Regions from separate parts of the Homo sapiens genome. Here regions 2, 3, 4, 5, 6 and 7 are each linked to region 1. The links are contacts of gene promoters, found by promoter capture Hi-C in blood cells and fetal thymus (Javierre and others, 2016). All regions are on one chromosome and are shown on one strand. The core of a region is centred on a gene start or on the middle of the fragment in contact, and the rest is flanking DNA. Distances in the headings are between cores, read along the strand shown.

Region 1 (3,189 bases), core at 306-2,805:
CAAATCGAAGACTTCTTTCCTCCACCCCCATCTAAATAGCACCCCATCCCATCATTCTTTGTCTCCTTAGCCTGCATTATTTTTCTTCATATCACTTATCACCACCTGAAGTTATATCTGCATTTGGTCCTTTTCATGGCTGTATTTCTAACACTTAGAGCAGGGGTTACTACATAGCAAGCACTCAATAAAGATTTATTGACTGCTGACTGACAGAACATAAATGCATGCATATGAAAAGAAAAGACTGAAAAGAATCTTAAAGAAATGATCGTTTGTGTTATAATGAAAGGAAATTCAGTATTTTCCCTACATTTTTCTGTAGTGTTATATTGCTTTTAACAATTTAAAAGTAAAATTATGAATCATTTAAAGCATGTAAGTAACATAATAAATGATTAGCACAGAGACTCATAGTTGAGTCTTTAGTCTCAAAAGTCTTAAAGTCTTTAGTTTAACCCATAAGATCACTTTAGAAGAAAACTCTAAAAAATAAAGAAACATAGAGGCTGGGAAGGGTGTGTGTGTTGTTGGTGGGGGAGGTGTGGATGGTTAATGGGTACAGAAAAAATAGAATATATAAGATCTACTGTTTGATAGCACAACAGGGTGACTATATTTATCCTTTGTTTACAAACAACCCGTTGTGCTCTTTTAGTTATTTTTAAATGTGCAATAATTTATTGCACATTTAAAAATAACTAAAAGAGGCCTGGTGTGATGGCTTACACCTGTAATCCCAGCAGTTTGGGAGGCCAAGGCAGGAAAATCACCTGAGGTCAGGAATTCGAGACCACCCTGGCCAATGCAGTGAAACCCCATCTCTACTAAAAACACAAAAATTAGCTGGGCATGGTGGTGCGCATCTGTAATCCCAGCTACTCGGGAGGCTGAGGCAGGAGAATCGCTTGAACCCGGGAGGCAGAGGTTACTATGAGCTGAGATCACGCCATTGCACTCCAGCCTGGGTGACAAGAGTGAAACTCTGTCTCAAAATAAATAAATAAATAAATAAAACTAAAGGTATAATGGGATTGTTTGTAACACAAAGGATAAATGCTTGAGGGGATGGATACCCCATTCTCCACAATATGATTATTAGGCATTGCATGCCTGTATTGAAACATCTCATATACCCCATAAATATATACACCTACTATGTACCCACAAAAATTAAAAATAAAAATATTTTAAATGTGGAAGTAAAAACAAAACAAATACAACAGCAAAAACACCAGCAGCCAGCAGCTTACCAGTCTCTGAGGTGGCTGTCTTCTGTATCCAGTCGCTGGGTTGGGAATCACTTGTTTTAAGGTCATTGTCCTCTTTTCTGCTTTCAGCATTGGAGCCCCTGAGAAATTTGTTGACAGTTGAAGTCTGGGGCTTAGTTTCTCCTTCTGAGGAAGTTTTCTTCCTTGTTTGACTCATGGTGAAGTTGATGGGGGTAGTTCCCAATAAGACATCTTCCTGTTGCTTTCTGTTTTCTAGGATTTCTAAGAAGAAAAGAAGATTCTGTCAAGCCTGTGTTCAATCAAAATATCCTCCCCTACATGACTGCCCCCCACTCCCTGCCGCACCACCTTTCTTTTTCTGTTTTTTTATTGCTGTTAATGTTTAACATGAAAATAAGAATGATGTAACCCAGGATCCAGAAGCCAATACAAACTCAAAGCAATTTGAGTTTTTAACTTTGCCCTATTTCATTGTGTGAGATACAAGTCATTAAGCATGACTTTGGCAAGCACATCAAGTGTGTCAACACATCTTAAATTACAGCTGTCAATTAGTTACCTGAAGACTTAATATGCCTTTAAAAGGGACTGGCCATTTGCAAAGCTGTCCCCAGAGGAGTTTGCCTTCAGCGACCTCTGCCTTCTGGTGACCCCCACCTCCTTCCTTTGCACATAAGCTCCTTTTTCTCTTTGCATATTCATATTTTCTCTACCCCCAACCCTGCACCACCACCCCACTGAAACATGTTGGCAGTAAAGAATTCATTCATTCCATAAATAGTTTTAAAGAATCTACTGTGGGCCAGTTAATGTTCTAAATGCAAAAGATTCAATGACGAACAAGAGACAGTTCTTGTCTTTGATGGGATCTTAACCTGGTGGGAAGATGGACCTGTATGCCATTGATTGAGTGGGACAAGAGCCAAGAGATGGGAGGTGGTCAGGGAACCCACAGTAAACTAAGCATGCCTTGGAGAACAGACTTGGAACAGTGAGTGACATTGCCTGGGTTTTGAAGGACTGCGAGTTAGCTTTTTAAGAGAGGGAAGAGTATCCCAGGCAGAAGAAAGGGTAAGCTCAAGAGCTCCCAGGCAGGAACGGCTGGAAGAGCCTAGCATTGGAGGTGGGGATGTGGGTCAGGGGGTGTGGAGGTTAGGGGTGAGGTCTGGTATGAATTGAAGCTAAAAAGGATTCGTAAAGGTCAATCTATTATCTCTCCTGAAATTTGCTTATATTTTATGGGAGGGCTAAGGACTTAAACTAAAGGGATACACAGAAGTGTTTTGTTTTGTTTTGACATAGAGATGGATTTTCACCATGTTGGCCAGGCTCGTCTTGAATTTCTGGCCTCAAGTGATCCGCCCACCTCGACCTCCCAAAGTGCTGGGCTTAAAGGTGTGAACCATCATGCCCAGCAGAAGTATTCTTGAAATTACAGTTTTCATAGTCTCCTCTCTAATAAAATAGCTCTTTCTGTAACATTATGTTCCAGAATGGTCCAAGAAACATTTTACACAGGGAATCCTAAAAATGGACCTTGCAGAGCCCACCTCCACTCGTGAGGGCTGGAATGTTCCATGCACTTGGAGCACTGCTTTGGAAGTCACAATTGGACATTCCATTTTTCTTTTAAAATCTTCCTTTCATATTAGAGCAGGGCCCAGCCCTGGTTTACCCAGCAACAGACAGCAGTGGAACTAAACAATTACTCCATGCACAGCAGCACAGCTGACTAGAGTCTCAGGGGGTTAGGTGGAAAAGAAGAAGGAAAGGGGCGCTAACTCATAAATCTAAACATGACCTGCAGCCCTGGCTGCCTCACCCTGATTCCACCATCACCCCAGGCCTTTCTCAATTTGCTACTCTTCTGGCCCCCCACCCAGGACACCTCCATGGTCATTTTCAGCCAATTTCACCATTTGGAGATTTAGACAGGGCTATTCTCTGGGGAGCTAGC
Region 2 (3,189 bases), core at 308-2,807, 240 kb after region 1:
ATATCATATCCTGCTGATATGATAACATCAGTCCTTTCCTTTGAGAACATCAGTCCTTTCCTTCCTCTTCCTGCCATGACTACAGGTGTCAATTACATGCAAAATTTATACATACATCCTACAGACGGCCATCAAAGTCTCCAAAAACACTCTTTTATTCGTAACACCTTCCTAAAAATCTTCAGTACTATCCACCCACCTTCAAACCATCCACCTAACTTCAAACTTGCTTGTCTAATATCCAAGGTTCTCCAGAAACTCACTCTGCCAGTCATACTTCCCACTACCCCTCTAATCCAACCCTCTACTCTTCACTGCCCTCTCTCGAAGTTACCTAGCACTTACACATTCTTAGTGCGTTTACTTAGTGTTCTAATCTGAAATGTTCTCGCTGTTTATCCTAAATCTATGCATTAAATCCACGACCCACTTCAAATCTCATTTTTATAGGAAACCCACCAAACTAGGAATAATCTTAGCCAGTTTTAAAGTTCTAAATTCTGTCTATATAATTCAGTGTGACTATACCATCTGTAGCTCCTTCGTTACCTTTCTGTATGGAGATTCCCTAGATTCCTAGTTCCAAACTACATTAAAAGCTGCTGGAGGGAAAGCGGATTGTATTTTACTTCTTTATGTATGTAAATAATATATACATACATAACCTGTCATGTTCTAGAATAGTCTAACATATACTATATGTCCATTATATTATAAACTGAGGATCACACTATATGTTGTAAAGTTTCCTAAGCAGATTTCCATGTTCTTCCTATTGTGTACACAGGGAGACACATTATAAATACTTTTTAGCCTAGAACTTTCATTTATATACATATTGTAGATATAGGCCAAGAAAAAAAGAATACCTGCACATTCTTTGTTACTTTTCACTTCACATGAGAATGCTCTCAGATAAAATAGTATGTGCAATTAAAAGACAGTATTTGAGAATTAAAGGAAATGAAATTCACAAAAACAAAAGGCACAATACAGACCTTATTTGGAACCTGATTTAACTAAATAACTATAAAATGACTTTAAAAAGTTAGGGAAATATGAATATTGGCCAGGTATTATATAACACCAAAGAATTATTATTTTGCTATGTGTGATATGGCATTATAAGGAAATGTGTATTATTTTGAGAGAGGCACACTGACGTATGTACCGGTGACTACGATTTTCTTTAAAACAAGAAGAAGGAAGGAAGGAAGGAAGGAAGGAAGGAAGGAAGGAAGGAAGGAAGGAAGGAAGGAACGAACGAACGAAAGAACAAAAGAACGGAAAGGAAAGGGAAGGAAGGAAAAAGAAAGAAAGAGAGAGAAAGAAAGAGGAAGGAAGGAAGGAAGGAAGGAAAGAAGGAAGGAGAAAGAAAGGAAAGAGAAGAGAAGAGAGGAGAAGAGAGAAGAAAAAAGAAGGGTGGGGGTTAGGAATGGAGGAAGGAAACAAAATGAATGAAGCTACTGTGGCAAAATAATGTTGAAATTGGGTGATAATGTTGAGTCTGGGTGACTGGGGATTTATTATACGATTCTAATGAATGTTTGAAATTTTTCAAGGTTAACATTCTTTCAAATTAAAACCAATCAAACTGAACTCAGAATAAGTAGTAAAAATCAAATTTTAAACTAATATACTCCTTGCTGTTCAAATAAGAAGTAAAACGGTGATTCACATGTTGCAACAGTTTATAAAGAGCTAACAATGTCAGAGATGTCATCCTTTTAAGTTAGAAAATCTGTGGGCAAAGACAGTATCTAGTTTGCTTACCAGCATGCTATTTCGCTTAATTTAGCGAAGTAAAGGCACACAGTATAGGCTCAATAAATATTTGTAAAGTGAATAAATTAATTTTAATGAAATATACTAATACATTGAGGATAATTACTTAGACACAAGTGTTAATTCACTACTACAGGGCCTTGACTATTCTAAATGCTACTGCATTAAACTGAACTCTATCACCTGAAGGGCCATGATCAAAAAGATGCTCCTATAGAACACGGCAATTCAGAATCTCAGCCCAAAAAACAGTAAAAACTTTGCTGCTTTTAAATAGCAAATTCAAGGTATAAAATACCGTTTTCATTTTCATTTTTGTTTGCTTTCCTTCAGTCATTTTGGATACCACTTGGACTTCTATTTACTTTATTTCATTTTTTTTTTGAGACGGAATCTAGCTCTGTCGCCAGGCTGGAGTGCAGTGGCACAATTTCGGCTCACTGCAACTTCCGACTCCCTGGTTCAAGCGATTCTCCTGCCTCAGCCTCCAAAGTAGCTGGGATTACAGGCACACACCACCAGGCCCAGCTAATTTATATATATATATATATTTTTTTTTAGTAGAGATGGGGTTTCACCATGTTGGCCAGGATGGTCTTGATCTCTTGACCTTGTGATCCACCCACCTCAGCCTCCCAAAGTGCTGGGATTACAGACATAAGCCACCGCGCCTGGCCTATTTTTTTTTTTTTTTTTGAGATGGAGTCTTGCTCTGTCACCCAGGCTGGAGCACAGTGGCGCAATCTCAGCTCACTGCAACCTCCGCCTCTGGGGTTCAAGCAATACTCCTGCCTCAGCCTCCCAAGTAGCTGGTATTACAGGTGCATGCCACCACACCTGGCTAATTTTTGTATTTTTAGTAGAGACGGGGTTTCACCATGTTGGTCAGGCTGGTCTCAAACTCCTAACCTCAAGTGATCTGCCTGCCTCGGCCTCCCGAAGTGTTGGGATTACAGGCATGAGCCATCGTGCCTGGCCTTATTTCATTCTTTATTAGAATAAAGTCTATAAAAAAGGAGTTTTCTCGTTGAACAAATGTAACCACCTCTTGAATGAAGAGTATATACTTAATACAATTATAATATCCACCTGATGTCAAACATCAGCATGCAGAAAGTCTGAAACGAAACAACCCAGAAGCTCTAAAATTTTAAGCTAACTCACTAAAATACTCATTTGTTACTTAAGTCTGCTTTAAAAAAGAAAGAAAATTGATTGTTTTGATACTAAAATTCTGAATTGCCTTCTCTCACATATGATGGAACTTTTCCCACTCACACTCCTTCAAAAGTCAAACTGACATTGAAGAAATTAGCACTAATCTTGCTATTTTAGTTATGTGACCATTGAGAGTCTGATTAGCTTTCCCATTATTTTAGTCAAATGGTGCATTATATGAAAATA
Region 3 (3,189 bases), core at 416-2,915, 220 kb after region 1:
CAAAGACCAAGCTTTTGAAGGAGAGGACTGGGAATCTAGTTTAAATGTCTACATCCAAAATTATATCATCTTTGCGCATTCAGTTGACTTTTTAAAATTTAAGAATACATATACAAAAAGTACTTATGGAATACATATTTTAACAGCATAACATATTTGAAGAATTAGTTACACTTTAAAAATTAAAACACTTGAAAAGTATTTTTTAAACCAGTACCATGGAATAACTTTTTGAAACCCAGATTATCTGGCTACTTAGATGATAGTCTTCCTGTTTTCAATTAGTTTGAAAGATTCTAATATAGATTCTAACCCAACAGTTTATATGGATATTTTCCTGCTTTAAAAAGCTGCAACAGGCTAGGCGCAGTGGCTCATGCCTATAATCCCGGCACTTTGGGAGGCTGAGGTGGGCGGATCACTTGAGGTCAGGAGTTCGAGTCCAGCCTGGCCAACATGGTGAAACCCCATCTCTACTAAAAATACAAAAAACTGGCCAGGCATAGTGGTGCATGCCAGTAATCCCAGCTACTTGGGAGGCCAAGGTGGGAGAATCTATTGAACCTGGGAGGTGGAGGTTGCATTGAGCCAAGATCACACCGCTGCACTCAAGCCTGGGTGACAGTGAGACTCTGTCTCAAAACAAACAAAACAAAAAAGCTAAAACAATGATAAACTATTTTTAATAGATATTTTCATTCTATATCTTTATGGAGAATGTCAGTATCAACTGATGTTAACAAGTAAAGCTTTGTCAACAGGAATTACAATGTGATTCACAGATCCCAGAATGACAAGGAAGGGACCTTAACCCAATAAATGATTCTCCCATTCAATGTTTACCCCCTAGATACTTAACAATTCAAGCATGGAACTGTTTCATGTTTACCCGTTCTACATTTAAAGGATGCCCTTTTACTATATATGTGCTTTCTAGAATATTACTGATTCTTACATATCTTTAAAAGTTGGATATTTGTAATAGCTTAAAGTACAGTAACACTTATTTTGTGTAATCTTTCTTAATTTAAAAACAAAAAATAAATGAACAAGTCAGTTCCAATGATCTCCTTTGAGATTTTTCAGTTTTAGAAAGTTGCTACACTGTCGGACAGGTGTGGTGGCTCATGCCTGTAATCCCAGCACTTAGGGAGGCCAAGGCAGGTGGATCACTTGAGGTCAAGAGTTCGAGACTAGCCTGGCCAACATGGTGAAGCCCCGTCTCTACTAAAAATACAAAAATTAGCCAGGTGTGGCGGCGGGCACCTGTAATTCCAGCTACTTGGAAGGCTGAGGCAAGACAATCGCTTCAACCCGGGAGGTGGAGGTTGCAGTGAGCTGAGATCGCACCACTGCACACCAGCCTGGGCAACAGAGCGAACCCATCTCAAAAAAAAAAAAAAGAAAAAAAAAAAAAAAGAAAGAAAGTTGCTCACTGTCAATACTGGGTAAAAAGCTCTTATATCAACACCAGCTTTTTTTTTGTTCTGCCACATGCCTTGTATAGCAACAACTCTGGAATAGAGTCAAGTGTCAAAATAATGTTGTGAAATACGGGCTGTCTCAACCTGTAAGTCCTTAATGTTAAGTCTCCTAAATTTTGTAACTTAATCAGGTATGGGGCCAACTGATGTTTAGTATGTGAAATGTGTTATAAAAATTATGATATGATTCACTCAGACCCCTTAGATGTCATCTAGCCTAACCCTTTACCCAATGTATACAAATATTCCCTCCCAGTTCCAAGTTTATTAAGATTCCCTCTCAGTATATTAAGTAGTAATGATTATGTTCATATTTATTTAAGCCACAATGAATTTTGGGGGGAAGATTTTACTTACTACTAGTTCCTCATGTCATGTTCACCAAACACTGCACATGTAAGTGTTCAAATAGTTTGCTAAATGAATTTAAGTACATGAATGACAATATTCATATGTGTTCATATATTCAGTGGTTAACCAATAAGGAGCATTTAGGAAAATGTCATCATTTGCTTGTTATGTATGAATTTTCTATTTTAATCCTTAGGAGAACAAAGACTGTAGGTGACCCAAGAAATGGATGCTTATTAAGTATAAAATGAACCCTTAAAAAAGGAAAGAGAATAAAGTAGGAATAACCCCATTACACAGCCTAGAATCATAGTTTTAGAGCTGGGAGGTACCTTAAAGATGAATTAAACCAAAATCAACTTTTGAGTAGTACAGGCACCATACTGCATATCTGGAAGCTGTTAAAACAGCTGAGTAATTGCCCAACATGTCACACACAGCTAACCCACTGAAATAAAACCCCAGTCTCCAGACCAGTGTGTTAATCCTCATTCATCATCATCTTAATTCATTATTTACTACTGAAATAGATTATTTACTGATTATTTAATACTACCCAAAACAAAAAATACTTTTAAGAGAAGCATTCTAAATAAAGATTTAAACACTAGACACTTCTGGTTTACTTTAGGCAAGACTAAAAAATTCTTTCTAAAACAGGTTGATGTTTAACTTCACTAATGACTAGACACCCCACCACTCTCTCATAAACACCAACTTTTTCACCACCATCACTTAAAGCTCCACAAAGCTTGGATTTAACACTGATAATATTCCATGAAATATAACTTTTAAGCCAATAAGTGATGGTGACTATCAATCCTTAAGATGATTACTGGAGTAAATTTAAACAGGTGCTCTAAAAGAACTTACTACCTTACTCTTATATTTAATTAACACCTTGCCATGTTAGTATAACAGTGTTTTCAAATTATGTTGTTTTCAAAACTGAAATTCATTCATTACTCTGCTTTTTTTAAACAACAAATTTTGTTTTCTTTCTATGGATTCATACTGAACACCACCAGTATCACTGAGAGGACTAGTACTTGTAAAAAGCAGTAGAAACAAAAATATTTTTCAAAAGTATAAAGCTAGCTAGAACCTCACTATGTTGTACCTCTAACATTTCCGATTAAAATTGTCATCTTTAAGTAAAATTAAATGTCAACAAACTATAAAAGGGAAAAAATAAAACATCTGGAAAACATTTCCCAAATGTTCCCATAAACATGACACTTGGAAGGGGTGTGTGCATGTGTCTGAGTAGAAAAGCTGATCTTCAGAGCTGAAAAGGAGGGCAGAGATTCTCCCTTAATGTATGTTTTCTAAATTGAAAGTTTAGAAAAAGCCA
Region 4 (3,189 bases), core at 212-2,711, 200 kb after region 1:
TGATCTTTTTCTTGTTTGATTTCCAGGAGCTCTTTATAAATTAGGTTAATATTTTACCATTTTTTTTCTTCTAGTTTGATCAGTCCCTTAGAATTGAAGGCATCTCTGGCTTCCAGTGTTTCCAAAAAGCCTGACCCCCATTCCCATGTCACCACCTCTCAGGTAAAGAGCAGGAACTTTGCTCCAATAGGCCCCTTCCATGTGACCTCTGCAATCACAGTCCCTCGCTTCCCCCAAAATAACTTCACTTTTACAGTCATCAGCACTTCTTTGCATTTAGAAGTTTTACCACCCAAATGCATATCTTTAGAGACTCCAATTTAGTCTTACCTTTAAAAAAAAAAGTTATCTGGGATGTGTTTTTTTACTCTCTAAATTACTTCTCCATTTTTCCCCTTTGTTTTTCTCTTGAAGAACTGGACTCCTTGACCAATAGGGTTTTCCACAGTGTGAGTCTTGCTAATTGCATGCTCATGATTCAGCTCAGTATATCCCTCAATCCTCTATTTCTTGCAAACTGGCAGCTGGATTCAGAGATTTAATGAAACTCAGGTTTGCCATATAGGAGGCACAAAATGTCTGGTTGTCTCTCCTGTTGAGATGATGGTAGGTACAGGTGCTAAAATGTCTACGTGGGTGGTGGGTTGGGGAGAAGTTGTTGCAAGATGGTGGAATTCTAAGTCTAAATTTTACGTTTCATTTATAAGTTGAAACACTCTTTATTTTTATTTATTTATTTTTTGAAACGGAGTCTTGCTCTGTCACCCAGCTGGAGTGCAGTGGTGTGATCTCGGCTCACTGCAACCTCTGCCTCCCAGGTTCAAGCTATTCTCCTGCCTCAGCCTCCTGAGTAGCTGGTATTACAGGCGTGCACCACCATGCCCCACTAATTATTTTTCTTTTTTGTATTTTTAGTAGAGATTGGGTTTTTCCATGTTGGCCAGGCTGGTCTCAAACTCCTGACCTCAAGTGATCCACCCACTTTGGCCTCCCAGAGTGCTGGGATTACAGGTGTGAGCCACTGCACTTGGCTCATTATTGCCTTTTCTTGAGTTCTTCCCCTCCAGTTTGCTCTCTTTCTGTGACTCCTGTTATTCAGAGTTTGCACCTGTTGGATTGGTCCTCCATGTTTCTTAACTATTTCTCTTTTTATTTCACTTTTTCTAGGAAATTTCCCAAACATTATTTTCCAACTCTCTGTTTACCTTACTACTTCTGCCATCATATTTTATTTTCCAAGAGGTCTTTTTTGTTTTCTGTTGTTATTATAAATAGCCTCCTCTTCTTGTATGGATGCAATATTTTCTCCCTGAAAACAATGAGTTTTTAAATAGCTTTCTTCTATCTAGCATTGTGTCTATTTCCTCCAAGTTGTCTTTTTTCTGCTTGTGGATTTGTTTAACTTTCAATACTAGAGATTTTCTTTGAATGTCTGAGGATCTTTGGATGTCCAGTCATATTTATAAGTAGGGCAGTATCTAGGCTGTTTCTTCAGGGAAGATTCAATGTAGTATCTTTAGATATTTCTTCCTGGGCTGATGCCTAGAGAGAACTGTTTGAGTCTTTATATCTTGTAATAATAGTATTCCTGAAATCCAACTGTAAAAAGGCTGGAGAGGTCTCAACTTCCGCTATATGTATTTTTATGCAGTCTCCCTGTTATCAGTATGATGCTCCTCTAATCCTCAACTCTGCCTACCGTCCAAAGATTGTTTTATCTTCCCCAGAGGGGAAAACCTCATTCTTACTCCGCAGTTGGAGAGGGAGTCATTTGCTGCACTGAGTCAGGGAAGAGATCTGGGGACCTAACTGCTTATTTCATTTGCAACGAATCTATCTGTTTTTATCCCCATCTTTGCATCCCTTTCTGAAGACACTTGGGTCAGCCACTCTTGAGATTTTTGAGGGTCCTGAGGTATAAATTGGGTTGCGACTCTGCTTTCTCCACTGCTAGCTTCAGTCTGTATTCACTGTATGTGATTCACCTGAGGATTTATTAAAACTGCAGATTGGTTTCATAGATCTGAGCTGGAGCCTGAGGGTCTATGTGAATAGCAGTCTCCTAGGTGATGCTTGGACCACACTTTGTGTAGATGGGGCTCACTCATTTACCGTCCATCTGTTCATTTTCCAGCCTCTGAAATTTTGTCCTTGGAGATTTGTACATTTTTTTTAAAGTTATGAAAATTTTCAAACATACATACAAATAGTTAGAACAGCCATTAACCAGTGGTCGATCCTGCCCCATCTATACTTTCATCCACTCGACCCCCAGCACACACACTGCATTATGTTGGCGCAAATTCCAGACAACCTATTTCATCTGTAAATATTTTAGTATGTATTATTTTAAATAGTGAGATTTAAATATAACCACACATATTAATTTGTTAGGGCTGCCATAACAAACCACCACAGGCTGGGTGGCTGAAACAACAGCTCTGGGGGCTGAAAGGGTGAGATCGAGGTGTCCCAGGGGCGGTTTCTCCTGGGGCCTTTTGCAGCCTGTAGATGGCTGTCTTCTCGCTGTGCCCTCCCACAGCCTTTTCTCTGTGTACCAGCATCCCTAGTATCATGTGTGTGTGTCCAAATTACCTCTTTAAAGGTCCTATCTCCAAATATAGTCACATTTGGAGGTGCTGGGAGTTAAAGGCTTCAACATATGAATTTGGGGGGATATAATTCAGCCCATCATACCATAATTTCCCATTGTCTTATATATGTAATTCTTTGTTGCCATGAATTCAGATAAATTCTACACATTGCACTTAGTTGATATATCCTAAGTCTTAATTTTTGTATTGTTGTTGAAACAATTTATTGAAGTAACAAATTGTAATCCTATAGAGCATACCACCATGTGGATTTTCTTTACTGCATCCTGTGGGGTCATTAAATAAGTTATTGTCCTCTTTCTTGAACATCAGTAGTTGAATCTACAGGTTTGGTCGGGTTCTAATTTTTTGGCAAGCCCACTTTGTAGATAGCAAGGTACTCTTCAATTTCCACCTTTCAGTATTAGTATTGATGATCTTTGGCTACCTCCATTTAGTACATCAGAGGTGGCAAATTGGGCAGTTTCCAAATTTTATCATTCCTTATTCACTCATATTAGCTAGAGTACTTCCAAAAAAAGTAAACATCACCTCACTTACTATTCTGTCACCAGGTGGTACAGTTAGCACAGGA
Region 5 (3,189 bases), core at 491-2,990, 180 kb after region 1:
GGAGAGGAGGTACAGAAGTGAACCCAGGTTCAGGCCAGAAATGAGAACATGGAATGGCCTTCATTTTACTGTATCAGAGAGGTAACATGAGTTCTTATTCTTTATGCCCTTAAGTAATTCTGAGGAGGAAGCACTTTAGAGATTGATAGCTAAGGTGTTGCTGGGAAGCTGAAAGCATCCATGGTGTCCAGGGAAGCTGAATGGAGGGCCAGTGATTCCCCTCCAAGCAGCAGGGCAGAGGTCTCCCCTGTCGACAGCCCTTGCCTGGTCCCCTTCAGCAGGGGGCAGTGGGAGGAAGAGAGGCAGTAGGCTTTGGATTCTCCCTCCTGCCCCAGGTGCAGACCCAAAGCTTCAGAGTCCATCCTACCTTCACCTAACCCTTCGTCCTTCTCCTGCACTCCAGCCAGGTGTTTCAGTGTGTAGTCTGTACCTGCCACACCCTCACCGCATCCCCCCAAGCCTGCACTGTCCTGTTCACCGCAAGGTTTTCTCTTCTTCCTATGGCCTCAGCTACTTTCCATTGCTGCCCTTGCCTCCTGATCCTGCCTGCCTTCAACTTTACTGTATTCTGAAAGGTTTAAAGGGAAAAGTCTTTTATGACCCACAATCCAAGGATCTGAAGGCATTGACATTTGGGTATATTTCCTTTTTATTTTGTTTTACTTTGTTTTTTTATAAATTTAAAAAATTTTAACATTTTATAAACAATTCATTTTATGTTAGAATTTTAACATAGTTGCTATACTTTGATTAAAATTTATCATTATGACGATATCAAAAAGACACCTGCATGCATATGTTTATCATAGCACAATTCACAATTGCAAAGATATGGAATCAACCTAAGTGTCCATCAACCAATGAGTGGATAAAGAATATGTGATATATGTATATACACATCACATATACACATACATATATACACATCACATATACACATACACAACACACCATGGAATACTGCTCAGCTATAAAAAGAACAAAATAATGTCTTTTGCAGCAACTTGGATGGAACTGAAGGACATTATTCTTTTTTTTTTTTTTTTTTTTGAGATGAAGTCTTGCTCAGTCACCCAAGCTGGAATGCAGTGGCCCAATGTCGGCTCACTGCAACCTCCACCTCCCAGGTTCAAGCGATTCTCCCACCTCAGCCTCCCGAGTAGCTGGGATTGCAGGCATCAGCCATCATGTCCAGGTAATTTTTGTAGCGACAGGGTTTCACCACGTTGGCCAGGCTGGTCTCGAACTCCTGACCTCAGGTGATCCACCCGCCTTGGCCTCCCAAAGTGCTGGGATTACAGGCGTGAGCCACCATGCCCATGAAGGCCATTATTCTAAGTGAAGTAACTCAGGAATCGAAAACGAAATGCCATATGTTCTCACTTGTAAGTAAGTGGAAGCTAAGCTATGGGTACACAGAGGCATGCAGAGTGATATAATGGACTATGGAGACTCAGAAGGGCAGGATGGGAAGGGGATGAGGGATGAAAAACAACCTATTAGGTACAATGTACACTACCTGGGTGATGAGTACTCTAAAATCCTAGACTTTACCACTGTACAGTTCATCTATGTAACCAAAACCCACTTGTACACCTAAAGCTATTAAAAAATTTTTTTTAAATAAAAAATCATTGTATTCCCCTATGTCTTTATAAATGTTTTTAATGACTGCATGCTATTTTAGGCTTTTTTAGCCATTCTTTTAAAATATTAGAGAACTAAGTTGTTGCTCATTTTTTGATGTTGTACATCATTCCAATTTGAATGCACATAAACCTTGGATCCCATTTCACATTATTTGAGATGGATTCCTGTAAAAATAAGTACTGAGTCAAAGGTTTTCAACATTGGAAAGTTTTCTTTCTTATCACAAAAGCAACAGATTTGTATTGTGGAAGATACAGGACAGTGTAAAAAGTAAACATGTACCTCTATTCTCACCAACCAGTTGCTGTTTGTGTCGCCGGGTTCTCCCCCTCCAGGACAAATGTCCTCTTCAGGCTTGCTCCATGCGTGGCCTGTCGGCTGGCAGCATGGCATCACCTGGGAGCTTGTTAGAAATGCAAAAGCTCAGGCCTGCCCCAGACATTGAATCAGAATCTGTCTTTTAACAAGATCTATATTCAAGTTTCGGAAGTCTTAGTCCCTGAGGCCACCACCTTACCAGTCACGGTGGGCTGGCATTAATTACCTCTGATCTGTGAATATACGTACATTTTTCCTATTTCCCTGATACTGGGATGTACCACTGTGTCTACCACTGGTTTGCACCCTCCTGTCTCCCTTAACGTAAGACCGTGTAAGGACAAGAGCAGGCTCCCCTCAGTAACACCGGTTCAGGGATCAGCAGGATCTCATCTCATCCCCCTATGAGAAGCCCTGCTACACACAGCTTTATCTTGTATCTGTCATTTAACATTATATTGTCAGCATTTTCCTGTTATTTAGTTTTTCTCTCAAGTTTATCTTTCATGGCTGCAGGTGGTAATCCATCTTATGACTGTCTGATAATTCATTTGACTCATTCCCTATTGTTAGACATTAAGTTGTTTTGATTCTTTTGGGGACTGGGGAGGGTATACTGTGGGCTATTATAAGTATGCCAAAGTGAACTGCTTCCGCAGTAATTATTTCCCTCAACCCAGATTATTTCCTTATGACAAGTTACCAGAGTGCAGACACTGGGTCAAAAGGCATGAACGTTTTAAACCCTCCTTAAAATGCCGCAGGAGTATACAAAGTGCCCTGACATGGTGCCCTCCCAGACACTGGGTAGTGTGGTCTGTAGACAGACTCCAGGGAGCAGGGTCATGCCTCATTCGCATCACGCCTCCAGGGCTGGTGTAGAGCCAACTCTGAGGGTCACTCTAAGGGGACCTGGGGGAATGGAAAGGAAGTGACGGAAGGATGGGCAAGCTGCCTGTGGTGGTGGTGCTCCTTTCCTCCTGGCCTGAGTCCTGAGTCACAGTAGATGTCACTGACCAGGCAGCAGCCTTCCTCAGGGTGTGTCCACAAAGTTTAGCCTTTCCTCCCGGCACCCGTCTTCCAGTGGCTTGGGAGCTGGAGCAGGTGGTGGAGGCCTGAAATGACTACTTGGTGAGTCTGGAATGTGCCGGACCTGATTGCTGCCAAGCTTGTTTTTGCTTCACGAGTCTGAGACTGTTGGGTTCTCTAATACTTTTTTCC
Region 6 (3,189 bases), core at 187-2,686, 160 kb after region 1:
ACATCCTTTTCCTGCTATAACGCCCTGTATTAAGTAAGGTTGGCTAGATTGACTTTTAAGGTTGTTAACTGAAAAAAATCACACGATTTATAAATTTAGAAAAGATTGGCCAGGCACAGTGGCTCACGCCTGTAATCTCAGCACTTTGGGAGGCTGAGGTGGGCGGATCATGAGGTCAGGAGATCGAGACCATCCTGGCTAACACAGTGAAACCCCGTCTCTACTAAATAAAATACAAAAAATAAAATTAGCCAGGCATGGTGGCGGGCGCCTGTAGTCCCAGCTACTTGGGAGGATGAGGCAGGAGAACAGTGTGAACCCGGGAGGCGGAGCTTGCAGTGAGCTGAGATCGCGCCACTGCACTCCAGCCTGGGCAACAGAGCAAGACTCCATCTCAAAAAAAAAAAAAATTAGAAACGGTGAAGGAGACTTTTTTTTTTTTTTTAAGGATTACAGCCTTCAAGGCGACCACTGTGCAGGCTGGGAAGCATGCCTCTGGCCAAGATCAGAGACAGGCACTTTGAAGGAGGAGAGATTAAAATAAAGCTCCTCAAAGGGTTGGTTAAACATACATATTCAACAGGTTACAGGAGGAGCTATGAATTGCCAAGACCGGCTCGGTCAGGGAGACCCTAACCCAGCAGTGCTAGAGTAATTAAAGACACACACACAGAAATATAGAGGTGTGGAGTGGGAAATCAGGGGTCTCACAGCCTTCAGAGCTGCTGAGAGCTTCGAACAGAGATTTACCCACATATTTATTGACAGCAAGCCAGTGATAAGCATTGTTTCTACAGACTGTAGATTAACTAAAAGTATTCCTTATGGGAAATAAAGGGATGGGCCGAAATAAAGGGATGGGTTTGGCTAGTTGTCTGCAGCAAGAGCATGTTCTTAAGGCACAGATGGCTCATGCTATTGTTTGTGGTTTAAGAACGCCTTTAAGCCGTTTTCCGCCCTGGGTGGGCCAGGTGTTCCTTGCCCTCATTCTGGTAAACCCACAACCTTCCAGTGTGGGCATCATGGCCATCATGAACATGTTACAGTGCTGCAGAGATTTTGTTTATGGCCAGTTTTGGGGCCAGTTTATGACCAGATTTTGGAGGGCCTGTTCCCAACAATGAATATTCATGGTAGTCCTGATGCACACGTACTGAACAAACATGCATGTAACATACATTCATTTTGGAGTGGATACTTAACATTGAAATGTATTACAATTCGGACACACACATCAAAGTATCTTTTCAGGATACAAAAAAGAGCACGACCTCTGTAAACCAACTAGAACCAGTCCATGGTCAGTGGTCTTATTAAGAGAAAGTTACTGAAATCAGTCTCTTGTCCAATCAAAGCTGTGGTTTTACGGCTGATGGGACAGGGGCTGAGGATCAATTAGCATCTGACGGAGCCGCAAATAGTTTTAATATTGCTTATCTCAAGGTCAGTGCTTGTTTAGCTGCTACAGAAAAAGAAAACCCTTATAATTGTGAACCCCAAAAATCCGAGACAGGTCTCAGTTAATTTAGAAAGTTCATTTTGCCAAGACTGAGGATGCATGCCTGCCCACGACCCAGACTCAGGAGGTCCTCACCACATGTGCCCTAGGGGGTCAGAGCACAGTTTGGTTTTATACATTTTAGGGAGACATGAGACGACATCAGTCAACACATGTAAGATGAACATTGGCTCGGTCTGGAACGGCAGGACAACTTGAAGCAGGGAGGATGTCAGGCCTCTGAGCCCAAGCTAAGCCGTCATATCCCCAGTGACCTGCACGTATACATCCAGACGGCCTTAAGCAACTGAAGATCCACGAAAGAAGTGAAAATAGCCTTAACTGATGACATTCCACCATTGTGATTTATTGCTGCCCCAACCTGACTGATCAATGTACTTTGTAATCTCCCCCACCCTTAAGAAGGTTCTTTGTAATTCTCCCCACCCTTGAGAATGTACTTTGTGAGATCCACCCCTGCCCGCAAAACATTGCTCCTAACTCCACCGACTATCCCAAAACCTGTAAGAACTAATGATAATCCACCATCCTTTGCTGACTCCTTTTTCGGACTCAGCCCACCTGCACCCAGGTAAATAAACAGCCTTGTCGCTCACACAAAGCCTGTTTGGTGGTCTCTTCACACAGATACCTGAGAAAGAGGAGGCTTCCTGGTCATAGGTAGAGAAGAAACAAATGATTGCATTCTTTTGAGTTTCTGATTAGCCTCTGATTAGGCTCTTTCATTTATACTAGCCAGTGACTAATGGGTGACTTTGAATAGAATGGGAGGCAGGTTTGCCCTAAGCAGTTCCCAGCTTGACTTTTCCTTTTAGCTTAGTGATTTGGGGGCCTCAAGATATTTTCCTTTCACATAATATAGTTAGAACACAGGCCTATGTCCTGTTTATAATGTGGTATCTTATTGCCACAAAGAGTCTATTCTGTCAGCCTTATGATCTCTATTTTAACATTAATGCTGGTCAGTTGTGTCTAAACCATAAAAGGGAGGGGTATAATGAGATGTGGTTGACCTCCCATCTTGTCATGGCCAGGAACTCAGTTTAAGGCTTTTCTGGGGTCCCCTTGGCCAAGAGAGGTTCTTTTCAGTCGGTGGGGGGCTTAGGATTTTATTTTTAGGTGACAAGGCTTTTCTTTGGGAACAATAGTATATCTAGTGGGATTATATTCAATTCCATGGAACAAACCCTGACCTTAAACAAGTAAGGGGGTTGCTTTTCTCGTGTAGTAAGACATCTGGAGCTAGGCACAGCTAGGTGGGTGCGGCTCCACCTTTATTGTGGGCTGTCCCAGAGTCTAAGACTACTGCTCCACCTCCAGCCTCAAGGCAACCTCACAGCAACCTCAAAGCAGGAAGGAAACAGGAGGCTGAGAAAAGGGGTAGTACCCGCAACAGGAAAGCAAAAACCTTCCCAGGACTTGCCAGCTGACGTCCTCCTATATCTCAATGGCCAGAATTGTGTCACGGGACCATTTCCTCCTACATCTCATTGGCCAGAACCATGTCATGTGATCACCCCTGCGATGACCTCGCGAAAGTGGGCATCTTAGCTTGGCACATTGCCTCCCTGTACAAAATCTGGGTTCTCTTAGAAGTTAAGAAGGCGAGAATGGATTTGAGGAGGCAGTTAGCAGTGCCCCGTAAAGAACTGACGGATCAGGGATGTCGG
Region 7 (3,189 bases), core at 207-2,706, 140 kb after region 1:
AGAAACGAACAGATACATCAACAAAGAAGACACACAGATGAAAAAAAAACTATGAAAAGATGCTCTACATCATATGTCATTAAGGAACTGCAAATTAAAACAGTGAGATACCACTACATACCTATTAGAATGGCCAAAATAACCTACGGCCATGCCACCCTGAACATTCCCCATCTTGCCTAGAATGGCCAAAATCCAAAGCACTGACAACACCAAATCCTGGAAAGGATGGGAAACGGCAGGAACTCTTATTTATTGCTAGTGGAGACACAAAATAGTATAGCCACTTTGGAAGACAGTTTGATGGCTTTTTGTTTTGTTTTGAGACAGGGTCTCACTCTGTTACCCAAGCTAAAGTGCAGTGGTGCGATCATGGCTCACTGTAGCTGAAACCTCCCAGGCTCAAGCAATTCTCCCACTCAGCCTCCTGAGTAGCTGGGACCACAGGTGTGCACCATCACATGTGGCTAATATTTTTTTGAGACAGAGTCTCACTCTGTTGCCCAGGCTGGAGGACAGTGGCACGACCTAGGCTCACTGCAACCTCCACCTCCGGGGCTCAAGCTATTCTCTTGCCTCAGCCTCCCTAGTAGCTGGGATTGCAGGTGCACACCACCACGCCTGGCTAATTTTTATATTTTTAGTAGAGACGGTGTTTCACCATGTTGGCCAAGCTGGTCTTGAACTCCTGACCTCAGGTGATCAGCCCACCTCAGCCTCCCAAAGTGCTGGGACTACAATGAGTTAGCCACCGCTCCTGCTCACACCTGGCTAATTTAAAATTTTTGTGTGTGTGTGGAGAAGAGGTCTCCTTATGTTGCCCAGGCTGGTCTCAAACTCCTGGGTTCAAGCAATCCTCCCACCTTTGCCTCACAAAGTGCTAGTATTACAGGTGTGAGCCAGCACACCTGGCTACAGTTTCTTAACAGATGGAAAAATGAATCCACACAAAGGGAAAAAGAGCATCAAAAATGGCATTGGGGCCAGGCGCCATGGCTCACACCTGTAATCCCAGCACTCTGGGAGGCCAAGGTGGCCTCGGATCACCTGAGGTCAGGAGTTCAAGACCAGTCTGGCCAACATGATGAAACCCTGTCTCTACAAAAAATATAAAAAGATTAGCTAGGCGTGGTGGCGTGTACCTATAAGACCAGCTACTCAGGAGGCTGAGGCAGGAGGATTGCTTGAACCAGGGAGGCAGAGGTTGCAGTGAGCTGAGATCACACCATTGCACTCAAGTTTGGGAAACAGAGCACGACTCCATCTCCAAAAAAAAAAAAAAAATGGCATCAATTTTCAACTTGTGATGGGGGATTTCCTGATTGTCTCTTTCCAGAATATCTTTAAGGTCAAAATATTTTCGTAATAATACTGATGTTGTTGCCTTTTCACTCTCATTCTCTCACAAGCATAAGTGGAGTTTTCCAGTGTGATATGGGAACAGATTGAATGCGGAGGCAGACATGAGAATCTAGCTTTCTTCTATTCATCCAGATATTCAACAGATTTGTTAAAAATGTAAAACAGCCACTCATCTCACAAACATTTTCTTTCTGAAAAAGTTATTTTTCATAGACATGTTATTTCTGTTAATGTGTCCTCTTTTATTATTGTTTCTAAAAATTTATGTTTTAATCTTTCTTTTATTTTGAGACTAGGTCTCACTCTGTTGCTCAGGCTGGAGTACAGTGCATGATCATAGTTCACTCTAACTCGAACTCCTGGGCTCGAGGGATTCTCCTGTCTCAGCTTCCTGAGTAGCGTGGACTACAGGCATGTGCCACCACACTCAGCTAATTAAATTTTTCGTAGAAACAGGGTCTCGCTATGTGGCCTAGGCTGGGCTCAAACTCCTGGCCTCAAACAATCCTCCCACCTCAGCTTCCCAGAGCTCTGGGATTACAGGGTGAGCCACTGCCTGTTTTAATTTCTTTTCTTTTTTTTTTTTTTTTTTTTTTTTTGAGACGGAGTCTTTCTCTGTCACCCAGGCAGGAGTGCAGTGGCGTGATCTCGGCTCACTGAAACCTCCGCCTCCCAGGCTCAAGCTATTCTCCTGCCTCAGCCTCCCGAGTAGCTGGGATTATAGGCACCACGTACCACCACACTAGGTTAATTTTTGTATTTTTAGTAGAGATGGGGTTTCATCATGTTGGTCAGGCTGGTCTCGAAATCCTGACCTCGTGATCCGCCCACCTCAGCCCCCCGAAGTGCCAGGATTACCGGCATGAGCCACCACGCTTAGCTGCCTGTTTTAATTTCTAACCGCAGCAAATAATCCACACCAACAGGACTCTTTGGCATTCTCAATAATTTTTAAAAGTAGTTAAAAGGTCCTGAGCCCAAAACGTGTGAGAGTTGTTGTTCTAGAGTAACTAGCATTGAAAGTTCTTTCACAAAGCTGACTGCAAATAAGGAAGATTTGGTGACACATAGAACCAGGTGGTAAAAATACAGGATGAGGGAAGGGCTTTCGAAATGGAGGCAAACAGAATAGGATCAGAAAATCTGAGCTGGAGATTAGTACAAAAGGGAGGAGGGACTAAATCTTTTATTGTGTCTGGGGTGTAGATCATTTACCTGCTCACTGTAGACTCGTGCCTGACAAATATAATTGCCTGGCAACCTCGGCTATTAGTTGTTTGAGACAGAGATATGATTGTAGATTCTGGCTGTATGTAATAATAATACCTCTTAAATTGCATCTGGCACTTAGGGACGCTGTCTAAATCCCTTGTGGCATCATTATTCATAGTTGCCTTCTGTGTTCATTTTACTTATAAAGAAATTGAAAACTCAGAAAAGAGTGTGTGGCTTTGGATTTAGGTAGCCCCGGATTAAAAATCCTGCCTAATGCTGGCTTCATCCGCTGTGTGAGAAGGTAACCATTTCAAGCCTGCACTGCTGAAGGAAGCACCAGTGTTCTGGCAACACCTCCTGTGTCCTGACTTTGGCTTTGGTTCTCACAGTGTGGTTTCCTCTGTTCTTTCCCACCGTTTGAGCCTGATTCTCCAGCTTTTCCAGTAAGTCTTGGGGCCACTGAAACTTTTACAATAAATTCATTTTCTTTTTACAGCAATGAATGAGGGTTCCAATTTCTCCATGTCCTCATGAACACTTGTTATTAACCATCTTTTTTTATTATAGTCATGCATTGCATAATGACATTTTGGTAAATGATGGACCTCACAT

Evidence for each region. Contacts are between HindIII fragments. The CHiCAGO score rates a contact against its expected background, and 5 or more counts as called.
Region 2: a fragment that was not itself captured here is called in contact with the fragment with the promoter of LRRC31 in region 1 in 9 of 17 cell types (total B cells, naive B cells, M2 macrophages and 6 more); the score reaches 8.4 in total B cells.
Region 3: a contact is called between a fragment that was not itself captured here and the fragment with the promoter of LRRC31 in region 1, in 12 of 17 cell types (naive B cells, total B cells, M2 macrophages and 9 more). The highest score is 14.7, in naive B cells.
Region 4: a contact is called between a fragment that was not itself captured here and the fragment with the promoter of LRRC31 in region 1, in 6 of 17 cell types (total B cells, monocytes, M2 macrophages and 3 more). The highest score is 8.5, in total B cells.
Region 5: a contact is called between a fragment that was not itself captured here and the fragment with the promoter of LRRC31 in region 1, in 8 of 17 cell types (monocytes, M2 macrophages, M0 macrophages and 5 more). The highest score is 9.3, in monocytes.
Region 6: a contact is called between a fragment that was not itself captured here and the fragment with the promoter of LRRC31 in region 1, in 12 of 17 cell types (total B cells, naive CD4 T cells, monocytes and 9 more). The highest score is 13.5, in total B cells.
Region 7: a contact is called between a fragment that was not itself captured here and the fragment with the promoter of LRRC31 in region 1, in 1 of 17 cell types (total B cells). The highest score is 5.6, in total B cells.

Annotation. Positions count from the first base shown.
Region 1 is chr3:169,868,380-169,871,568 of GRCh38, forward strand. LRRC31 (leucine rich repeat containing 31) reads right to left here and starts at 1,556. Exons shown (of 9, transcript NM_024727.4): 1 at 1,254-1,556. The coding sequence starts at 1,428. The HindIII fragment of the contact is 9,706 bases long and covers 1-3,189 here.
Region 2 is chr3:170,110,061-170,113,249 of GRCh38, forward strand. The region is part of intron 11 of PHC3 (polyhomeotic homolog 3); the gene reads right to left. The region is part of intron 2 of LOC105374209 (a long non-coding RNA gene); the gene reads left to right. Among named protein-coding and RNA genes, the nearest start is that of PHC3, 70 kb to the right of the region's middle. The HindIII fragment of the contact is 5,579 bases long and covers 1-3,189 here.
Region 3 is chr3:170,088,526-170,091,714 of GRCh38, forward strand. PHC3 (polyhomeotic homolog 3) reads right to left here. Exons shown (of 15, transcript NM_024947.4): 15 at 1-3,189. Among named protein-coding and RNA genes, the nearest start is that of GPR160, 52 kb to the left of the region's middle. RefSeq lists a silencer at 2,163-2,363. The HindIII fragment of the contact is 1,837 bases long and covers 748-2,584 here.
Region 4 is chr3:170,067,422-170,070,610 of GRCh38, forward strand. All of the region lies in intron 2 of GPR160 (G protein-coupled receptor 160), which reads left to right. Among named protein-coding and RNA genes, the nearest start is that of GPR160, 31 kb to the left of the region's middle. RefSeq lists a silencer at 1,647-1,847. The HindIII fragment of the contact is 6,364 bases long and covers 1-3,189 here.
Region 5 is chr3:170,046,806-170,049,994 of GRCh38, forward strand. All of the region lies in intron 2 of GPR160 (G protein-coupled receptor 160), which reads left to right. LOC124909455 (a long non-coding RNA gene) reads right to left here. Exons shown (of 3, transcript XR_007096156.1): 3 at 632-2,053. Among named protein-coding and RNA genes, the nearest start is that of GPR160, 10 kb to the left of the region's middle. The HindIII fragment of the contact is 2,787 bases long and covers 348-3,134 here.
Region 6 is chr3:170,030,769-170,033,957 of GRCh38, forward strand. No RefSeq gene overlaps it. Among named protein-coding and RNA genes, the nearest start is that of GPR160, 5.6 kb to the right of the region's middle. The HindIII fragment of the contact is 4,915 bases long and covers 1-3,189 here.
Region 7 is chr3:170,010,319-170,013,507 of GRCh38, forward strand. No RefSeq gene overlaps it. Among named protein-coding and RNA genes, the nearest start is that of GPR160, 26 kb to the right of the region's middle. The HindIII fragment of the contact is 5,150 bases long and covers 1-3,189 here.